2 separate regions of the Homo sapiens genome follow, and region 1 is linked to region 2. The links are contacts of gene promoters, found by promoter capture Hi-C in human tissues and cell types (Jung and others, 2019). All regions are on one chromosome and are shown on one strand. The core of a region is centred on a gene start or on the middle of the fragment in contact, and the rest is flanking DNA. Distances in the headings are between cores, read along the strand shown.

Region 1 (5,427 bases), core at 63-2,562, 63 kb before region 2:
GATGCGGAACCCAAATTACGTGTACTACAATTTAAAGCAAAGGAGTAGAAAGACAGAGCTGGGATGTTTCTGTCACATCAGCTCCACTTTCAGTGAAAGCATCACTTGGGATTAATATGGGGATGCAGCATTATGATGTGGGTCAAGGAATTAAGTTAGGGAATGGCACAGCCCAAAGAAGGAAAAGGCAGGGAGCGAGGGAGAAGACTATATTGTACACACCTTATATTTACGTATGAGACGTTTATAGCCGAAATGATCTTTTCAAGTTAAATTTTATGCCTTTTATTTCTTAAACAAATGTATGATTACATCAAGGCTTCAAAAATACTCACATGGCTATGTTTTAGCCAGTGATGCTAAAGGTTGTATTGCATATATACATATATATATATATATATATATATATATATATATATATATATATATATATATATATTTTAATTTGATAGTATTGTGCATAGAGCCACGTATGTTTTTGTGTATTTGTTAATGGTTTGAATATAAACACTATATGGCAGTGTCTTTCCACCTTGGGTCCCAGGGAAGTTTTGTGGAGGAGCTCAGGACACTAATACACCAGGTAGAACACAAGGTCATTTGCTAACTAGCTTGGAAACTGGATGAGGTCATAGCAGTGCTTGATTGCGTGGAATTGTGCTGAGTTGGTGTTGACATGTGCTTTGGGGCTTTTACACCAGTTCCTTTCAATGGTTTGCAAGGAAGCCACAGCTGGTGGTATCTGAGTTGACTTGACAGAACACTGTCTTGAAGACAATGGCTTACTCCAGGAGACCCACAGGTATGACCTTCTAGGAAGCTCCAGTTCGATGGGCCCAATTCTTACAAACATGTGGTTAATGCCATGGACAGAAGAAGGCAGCAGGTGGCAGAATGGGGTGCATGAAGGTTTCTGAAAATTAACACTGCTTGTGTTTTTAACTCAATATTTTCCATGAAAATGCAACAACATGTATAATATTTTTAATTAAATAAAAATCTGTGGTGGTCGTTTTCCGGAGTTGTCTTTATCATCCTTGCATTTGAATATTGTGTTCAAATTTTTGATTGATTCATTCAGTATCTGGTGGAGTCTCCAATATTAGAAATACTGGAAACAAACTGAAAAACCACAAAAGGACAAATAATGCTTCATGAGTCAGCTTTGCACCAGCCATTACCTGCAAGTCATTCTTGGAAGGTATCCATCCTCTTTCCTTTTGATTTCTTCACCACTATTTGGGATATAACGTGGGTTAACACAGACATAGCAGTCCTTTATAAATCAATTGGCATGCTGTTTAACACAGGTTCTTCACCTCCCCTTTCTTACCGCCTGCTTTCTCAGCTCAACTATCACAGGCATTACAGTTGTCATGGCAACCCCAATGTTGGCAACCACGTCCCTTGCAGCCATTTTGATCTGCCTTCCTGAAATATAGAGCTTTTCCCTGTGGCTTCCAAATGAACTATTTTGCAAATGTGGGGAAAACACACACCTGTGGTCCTATGTTGCTATCAGCTGGCACACCTAGGCCTGGCACACTAAGCCCTCTGTGATTCTTGCTTAACCAATGTATAGTCTCAGCACATTTGGTTTCCACTTAAGGTTTCCTATTTTTGACCTCCACATCCTGTTATTGTCTTTTGCAGTGATTCTCAGTGTGGTCAGGGACCACCTGTAACTGAATCCACTGGGTCACTTACTAAAAACACCAATTCACACTTATTCCCAGATGCGTTGAATCAGAATCTTTGAGTGGTGGGGCCAGGAGTTTGTATTTCCAAAAATCTTCCCAGTGCTTCTTATACCCATCAAGTTTTGAGAATCACTGCTTAGGCAACTCTGTCTGTGTCTCTTCCTCTGTCTCTCCCCCTTGCTCATTCTCTTGCTTGCTCTTGCTCTCTTTCTCTCTTTCTTGCCCCAGCAAGTGCTAACAAACACACAAGACAGCACATAGTAAGCATTTCAAAAGGGGTTGTTAAAAAAAAACGAATAGGTCTTTCAAAGTAAGGTAATGATTATTACCTAGAATGAGCTCCTTTTCTGTGGAAGACTGTGCTTCTTGCTCTCTAGGCCTTTGGATGGTAGCCATGAAGAAAAACACCAATCAGGAGCCTCAGTGGATAGTATATCATTTCCACTCCTCTAAACATCTTTAGAGAGATTACTCTTTTTCATAGTTGATGGGCAGATCTGAGTGACAGAGAGTGCCTTACACAAGTGATGCCCTCCAGGTACCTTTCAGACACCCTTAGATAATGGACTACTTTATATAAGCTTAATATTTCCTCTGCTATTGCCTAAAATTCTACCATTTGTTGTTCACTGAGATAAGACTTGCCCTCTTCATTCAGTCTCAATCTTATAAAAATAAAATACCCTTTAGCTCAAAAAAGCTTCCCCTATGGCAGAAGAATTGTACAAGAAAGACTATGACCCGGGGTTCCGCTGAAAGGGGAGAAAGCAAATATGAGGGTAAGGGAGTGCATCTGGGCACCAAATGAAAGCCTCTTCTAATTCCCATGTCATTTATGAGAGAAGATTCTATGTCTGTAGTACTCAGAGAGGTGAACTGCCCCCAAATCAGAGGACCAACTGTCACATGGGATTCCAACCTTCATCATCATCTCCATTTCTGGGATCAGGGTCCTGGGGCAGCTCCAAGCCCAAATAATCCATGAACCCAAAAGGGGCTTGGCCTACCATGCAGGGGGAGCCTGGGCGTTGCAACCCTCCTCCTTGGAACCACTTGTCACAGGCAAGACTGTGGATGACAAGGGAGCCGGATAGAGTGGCCAGGGGCTCCAGAGTCAGTTCCTCCTCCAACATGGCTCCTAGCACACGCCTCTGCTCATGTCTCTTCTTCAGCATGGTACTCGCATTCCTGCTACTTCCCATTTCTTCATTTCTCACCTCCAAATATTATAATCCTTCATTGTCACACCCATCAAGACTAATCCCAAATTTTGCCTCCACCGTCAGATTTGCTGACACTTTAAGCTCGTGGATTTCTCCTCTTTTGTTTCATAGCTATACTTGGTTTCACCTCTAATAATTTCAAGCATGCATGTCTTTTCTACCTAGTTAGATCAGGAACTTCTCCAAGACAGGGATAATCACAACTTTAGGCACACAGTAGATGCTCCAATAAATGAATTGAGGAGTTGGGGAACTAGGACATCCAGGACCGTTTTCCATACAGAACCCATCTGTGTTTTCTTAGGCAGTCCCAGCTTAATCTCTTTCCCATTTGATCATCAGAACTTTGTGCAGGTCTACTCATCTTTTGGCTTAAACCTTAAAGACTCTGGACTGTGAGTTCCAGCTGCCTACTCTGTCCCACTCATTCTACTTTGATCTTAATCCAGTCTTACTTCCAATCTTTTTCTTTCTTTGTTGAATTCTTATTTTTATTCTTTTTCTCTTTTGAATTGTTGGTTGTTGCTAAAATTGACTATATTTTTATACCCAGTCTGAGCCTTCTTCCGTATCCACAGTTAATAGTTCATTCAACTTAGTTGGGACTGAGCTCGTGAAACATTGATGTCACTGTGTTGTTAACTGGAGCAAAGCCAGTTGAGAAGTTCAAGACTTTATAAATTTAGTTATTCTTTTGGGAGTTCTCAAAGCAAAGGAGAACATGGCTTTCTCCGGAAAGTTATTCCCATTGCCTTACTTGTTGTTTGCACCTGGTTAGAGCCATGACTCAGGCTCCTTAGAAACCTTGTTTTATTTCATATATATATATTTTTTCTCATCTCAGGTCAATTTTTTCTGTTCAGTCCAGAAACATGACACACCCTATTGGTAAAAAGGGAGGAAAATTTATTCTTTCCTCTTTTATGTTTCCTTGGCTACATGCTGGGATAGGGGCTCATGGTAAGTTTGCCAGATTCAACCAAAAAACGCCACAAAAACAAGAAAACAGGATGCCCTGTATTTTATCTGACAACGCTATCAGCAGGAAAGCTTATGCTTCTAATGCAGTGTGAATAAAAAGTGTACTAGAGGCTGGGTGCAGTGGCTCACACCTGTAATCCCAGCACTTTAAGAGCTGAGGTGGACAAATCACTTGAGGTCAGGAGTTTGAGACCAGCCTGGCCAACATGGTGAAACCCTGTGTCTACTAAAAATATGAAAATTAGCCGGGTATGGTGGCAGGTGCCTGTAGTCCCAGCTATTCGGGAGGCTGAGGCAGGAGAATCGCTTGAACCGGGAGGCAGAGGTTGCAGTGAGCAAGATCACGCCACTGTACTCCAGCCTGGGTGACAGGGCAAGGCTCCATCTCAGAAAAAAAAAAAAGAAAAAGAAAAAGAAAAGAAAAGTGTACTAGAGACCCCTCTTCAGAAGTTTCTGAGCAAGAACAACTTGAGACTGTGACCACTGTTCCAACTGTAACACAATCTCCTGTTCTCACTTCCAGGCACATGTGGGATTGATGCTATGTCACTGGAAGCTAATGAGACCTGCAGAAGAGGTAGCTATTTCTCTTCTAAGCAATTTTCTTAGAGGAAGTTAACCCATCCTGCTGCATATTGCAAGGAACTTGACATTCAGACCCTTCTTGGAAATCTGCTTTCATGGGCACACTCTATGTTCTTGCATTTATTTCGTACAATAATCATCTGAAGCATTTGGAAAAAGTGCAGATTGAAGTTCCTCTGAACCAGAACTTCTCACTTATAAGGTCTGAGGCAGGGCCTGGGGATTTTAATTCTTCAGAGAGCCTTTAGGCCATAGTTCATAAGCTCTGATCTAACTCAGGATTCTACCATCATAGATGATTAGCAAAGGATATTGGAAATGATCCTCAGATTTTAGAAGAACATAAGGCTCGGAGACTTTAGGGACCTTGTCCAAGGTCCTATGGCGAGGCAGGACTTGAACTAGGCTAAGAAGTCAGATCTCCAGGTTTTCACATCAGGGCTCTGCAGAGGGTGGCACTGTGCACCTTTCTGACCAGGGGCTGTCCTTTCCAGGCTGCTTCTAGGACGTCCCTGCTACCACTCCAGGCCACCCACAGAAAACCCACTTTTCCATCCATCTCCATCCCAAGTACTCCTGTTACATCTCGGTGTGATTATCACCACTGTTGCTGCTCCAATGTTGGCTTCATCTTTTCTCTTTCTCCTGTACCCTTCCAGAGGACTTAGGAGAAGCATCTCAGGTGACCCAGCCTGTTCTTAGCAATCCTACAGAAAAATGCTGCAGGCGGACAACACAAAGCAAAACGCTGCCAATAAACAGTCTGTCAGCAAAGCCGGCAGTACACTGAGAAAGCTCCTATTGCCACTGGAAGTCGTGGAACAACCCATTGAGATGATACATGCTCTTTTAATCACACACAGTCAAGTTACTATAGCAACTAACAGTGTTTCAGAAACATGGTATTAATCACACAAAGTAATACTATCTATTTGGAC
Region 2 (5,229 bases), core at 676-3,175:
CATCAGCTCTGTGACTCCGGGCAAATGACTGAATCTCTCTAACTCTCAGTTTTCTCATCTATGAAATGAGAATAAGTAACAGACTCTCCCTCGCTGAGTTGTTTGAGAACGGGATCAGACAATGCACGTGGAGCCCCGTGTCTGGCACACACTATGTCCTCATTGCATATTTATTATTAGGTTTCTGCTTTGTATTTTTCTCTGTGCAACAGCCCTGAGCTCTAGAACTTATGACAGCTTTTCTCAAGTGAAGTTAAAGTTCCCCATACTCAGTTCCAGAGCTAGGCCTCACCTAGGTTGGAAGAAGTCAATTGTTCTCCACTGCCTGCCTGTGTGCTGGGAAAGGACTCTAGCACAGTGCCGGTGGGGCTGGAAGCCTTTCCTCATGATGCTACGGGGAGTACAGTGAAAAGGGAGGAGATTGGGGTAGCAAGGTCCCAGGGGTCCTGGCAGCCCAGGCTCTACTTCTCAGGCTAGCTCAGTCCCTCAAACAGCTTCCTTCACACCCACTGCTGAGACCCAGGAGCCCTACAGAAGGTAGCTAGGGGAAGCTTCAGCAGCTAGGGGGATCCCTGCAGGATCAGCCTCCTCCTTACCTTGCAGACCCCTTGGCTGTGGTCTGGCATTCCTAGTGGCTGGCCTAAAGCCCCAAACCTGGAATCTGTTTCAGAGCCTGGACCTTTTGGACTCACACCTTGGTTTCCCTGGCCAGCTGATTTCAGCTTCTCATCTAAATGTCATTTCTGCAGGCTAAGGGAAGTCCAGCCTGGATCTAGCATCTTGGAAGCGCGTTCAGACTTCTGGATGGAGGGATCAGCAGGCCTTGGTATTGGTGGTTCTACCTGCTTCGGTTAAGAGTGAGGACTCTGGAGCCAGACTCTCTAAATCATAGCACTGACACTTACTATATGACTTGGGCCAGGTTCGTTACCTGTCTGTGCCTCAGTTTTCCTCATCTGTAAAATGGGAGATTAGTGGTCACCATTGGGATGATTAAGAAGATTAAATGAGTTAATGTATGTATAAACTATAGTTATAATGTAAATATATATACAAACAGTAACCATTTACATGCATATAAAACATAATATAAATGTAATATTAGCTATATTCATATATAAAAATAGGTATATTTTATATATAAAATATATTACATTTAATTTTTTACATTTTGCATTAAGATATATTATTTCATATAAAACATTTAAGTACATATACATATAATTATCTATGTAATTATTATTGTTATTGTTGTTATTGTCTACTTTACCTCCCTGCAGGGATGGGGAGACCACGGCAGGCTTTTAAACATTCTTGGTCTCACTGAGCCGTAGGTGAGGAATCCCTGGTTCCTACAGACTCTGCTGTAATATGAGGAGCAGGGTTTAAGTTAGTTTAAAACTGACCCCATCATTTGAAACATTGCAATCTACAATGAATGCCACATAAATATCATTTCTCAGATTCCTATGATGCTCTTCTTTCAGATCTTTTCACTTCAATTTCTATAATAATTTTGTTTGTTTCTTGTCCTATTTCAAAGGCTTTCTTATCTCTGGAGCACCTAGCATAAGATAGAAATGTGTCAAAATATATGTTTTATTCATCATGTGAGTATTTTTAGGTCCTGTTAACCCCCATAACTATTGATTCAGAGAAGTAGGGTGGTTCTGAAAAATACAGGCATAATCTCTTTAACTTGTTTTATAGGAACCAGAATAAGGGTAATGTTTTCCTCTGTCTTCAAAATCATCAATAATCCATGCATTGTTTAACTCATGTCATAAGCAATAATGCCTTTCATATAGCCATTGGCATCAAAGAAGAAACACCCCCTTGATTTGATGGTAAGCGTGACACTACATAAACTCCCAGAAAACCCACTTCCTTTCCAGCAAATAGAAAACAACCGAGAGCCTGAATTCACTGTCAGCTTTGAACACTGAACGCGAGGACTGTTAACTGTTTCTGGCAAACATGAAGTCAGGCCTCTGGTATTTCTTTCTCTTCTGCTTGCGCATTAAAGTTTTAACAGGTAAGTGGTGTATTGAATATTTCTTATTAAGTTATAATTCAAGTAAACATTAAGAAAAAGCAAAGGTAGAAAAATTACGCACCCAAAAGACAGTGGTTTTGGTTTTTGAAAGTAGGAATAGTTTCAGGATATGGCCAAGGGCACCATGTCACTCATGTCACTGTGGATGGCATTGAGTTTGCATTGCTGCCTTTGATACTGTGTCTTGAGATGAAAAACATGTTTCATCAGACCATTAAATTTTTAAATTACCTGCTTGGAGTTACCTGTCAGTGGATAAACTAGCAGAGTGGCTTACTGTTCTTAGAGAAAGATGAAAGGCAAAATGACTTGTGTCAACAGAATGAAAATTAAATAGCTCTGGCATTTGGACTGGGAATTCTTTCTGTGGTAGAAAATAAAATGGGAAGTCTTTGAAAAGAAGGATTTTGATTTTAATCTTACCTGGATGATCTGTTATCTGAAATGTCCAGGGCACCATAGAGTTTTTATTGACACTAAGTATCAGAGTTCACCCTAAAAAGCCAAGGAGGAAAGGATAATGTAAAAATACTTCCTAGCCCCTGTAGACCTTACAAAAAAGATCATTCTGGAGTCCCTGATTCCTTCTCTTGAATGGCATATAGCAGACTCTATATGGACAATTTAAATAATGCTACATACAATGTAAGTTAATACACGTGTTTCTGCTGCTTTTTACTGTATATAATTTGTACTACTTTTGTTTTCTCTTTCACACTGAGCCCTATTCTTGAGGTTGAAAAAAGGAAAGTTAAGTAATATTAAATAACTTAAATAATCAAATAAACTAAAAGTGAAGGCAGAACTTTTAGTAGGTATGATCCTATCTAGGGATACATTTTTTCAGTGGCAAAAAAATAGACCTTACTGTTCTTACAAAAAATGAAAAAAAAATGAAATCAAATTGATCAAATGTTTCATCTTGTGCTGGCTCAAAGTGAGTTAAGTGCAGTTAAGAGGATTGAGGAATGTAGAATGAGCACAAGGACAGTTTTGGGCTACTTGCTGGTTTATGCCTTTTCTAGAATCTCATGAAGTCCTTTAGCGGCATGAATGACATGAGCAGCTTTGGAATTTATATTCATTCTTCATTCATCCATTTACTCATGTAGCATTGAGCACCTGCCTGGTAGCAGGTACTGTGCCAGATGGTGTATGTACAAGGATGAGCAAAACCAGGTCAACCCCTGTTCTTTGGAAGGTAACTGCATGGTAGAGAGAGATATATTAATCAAATAATCCCATTGATTAATGATAATTACAGGCAAAACTCAATTATATGAGGGAATGTAACAAGGAGCTTGACTAGACTGGGTGGGTGTGGAGGTGTAGCTGAGGAGCAGGGTTCATTGAAGTCTTTCCTGTGCAAGTGGCACTTGAGCGGAGATTTCAAGGACAAGGTAGCAATCAATGGGGAGAACGGTATGAAGGTAGGGAAGAACGTTCCATACCATGGAAGGAACAAGTGCAAAGAGCCTGTGGCAGGAAGGAATGAGGTAAGGTTAGGGAACTAGAAGAAAGCAGACAGATGTGCCTGAGCACAAAGAGGGAAGAGGCTGAGCTTGGTCCAAGATGACCAACTGGTCCAAGTTGGTCCAAGGTGAGGCTGGAAAGGAAAGTAGAGGCCAGACCATTCAGACCATATAGTCTATGTTCCAGATTTTGGATATTCTTCCAAGAACGTTGGTACCATTCGTGGAAGGGTTTGTTTGTATTGATAAAAATCATTCAACTAGGCCAAACCAATTTGGGCAGTTCTGGTTGTGGTATTATGCTCAGGAGAATTAAAGTAGCATCGGTGTCAATTCTGTGGAAGGTGAGATCCAGCCTTAGGTAGGATTGTTTTAAGTTTCCAGATTAAGCTGACGAATAATTTGTATTCTGGAACAATATTCATCGTAGATTCTAAATGAATACAACCAATGTTCACTCTCATTATAAAGAAAGCCATGAGATGTGGCATGCTGTTTGGCATGTGGCAAACCTGAGGCACGAGTGGCTAAATGGTAACAATAAATCTGCTAGCAATGATCCTATTTAAAATATCTCCACAATGCATGTATCCAGAAACTGCCATGTAAAAGCTCTAAAGAAAAAGAGCCAAACTCAAGTAAACTAAGTACTTGCTTGTCCTCTGTTGTATTTTCAATCCTCCCAATTTACATAGGCTTTCTCATGCCATGAAGATGTAGGCATTCTTACCTTTAGTCAGTGTTTGAAGAATTTCCAACCAGGAAAGGTTAAGTGATTTGTTACACAGTAGTTGGTGGCAGAACCAAAGTTAGAACTCTAATGTGACTCCAACATCTACATTCTTTCTAAACTGTGTTGAAGTAGTGGAGGTGTAACATAAATCTAAAGGAACGTAAATCTCAATGATTCTGATCACCTTTGTTATTTGGTTGTGAATTAAGAAGGATGGGAATCTTGCTGATTTCTAGTCTTTGATGGATCTCAATGTAGAATTTAACAAAGTCTTGTTTTTTTTTAATGAACTTGGAGCAATAGGACACTTTTAATTATAAAAATATCTACGAAAAATGTGAATGTCTAACTACATTTTGAAGACCCTCTTTGTAGACCTTATAGGCAACAGGGACCATATGAGTGATGGGACAAATTCTGGTTTTAGAAAGACTACTTTAAAAGCAGTGTGGATAATACACCAGATTGGGAAGGGCTGATGGCAGAGGGTGTCTAATAAACGTGCATGTATTATGATGTGTTCTGTGAGGAAGCTGGGAGGATAGCCCTCAAGGCCACTTTGAGCCTTCCTTTGTCACTGAGGCATTCCATTAGTGACTCCTGAATTCCACTTGGGAAAAGAGCCCCTCAGTGTCTCCAGCGTCTGAGAGAAGTCTGTGAAGATGACTGACCTTGGAGCCCCTCTTAGCCTCTCCACGACTGAGTAAATGTCATCTCCTGACAGCACCCCCTTCCAGAGTGTTCTTGTTAGATTTAACAAAAATCCCAGTTGTCAATTTTTTCTTTTGATAGATGAATTCAGGCCATTCCCAGTCAGCATAAGCCTCTACTTGATTTTATTTCTATGTTTATTTACTACTTATTTTTCTTTGTTGTATCCTCTTTTTCTCTTTTATTTTTGTTGGTGTGATGAAATTTCTTTTGACTCTCCTCTTTGCCTCCGGTTAATTTGGAAGGTCGACTACAGT

Evidence for each region. The method cuts DNA at HindIII sites, captures the fragments that hold promoters and counts their contacts. A contact is called where the count stands out against the background at its distance.
Region 1: a contact is called between a fragment that was not itself captured here and the fragment with the promoter of ICOS in region 2, in 1 of the 25 tissues and cell types used here (psoas muscle).

Annotation. Positions count from the first base shown.
Region 1 is chr2:203,872,945-203,878,371 of GRCh38, forward strand. It overlaps CTLA4 (cytotoxic T-lymphocyte associated protein 4), which reads left to right. Exons shown (of 4, transcript NM_005214.5): 4 at 1-1,021. Among named protein-coding and RNA genes, the nearest start is that of CTLA4, 7.9 kb to the left of the region's middle. The HindIII fragment of the contact is 3,747 bases long and covers 1-3,186 here.
Region 2 is chr2:203,934,838-203,940,066 of GRCh38, forward strand. ICOS (inducible T cell costimulator) reads left to right here and starts at 1,926. Exons shown (of 5, transcript NM_012092.4): 1 at 1,926-2,035. The coding sequence starts at 1,978. LOC101927840 (a long non-coding RNA gene) reads right to left here. Exons shown (of 4, transcript XR_427213.4): 2 at 2,480-2,551; 3 at 1,271-1,364. The HindIII fragment of the contact is 7,273 bases long and covers 1-5,229 here.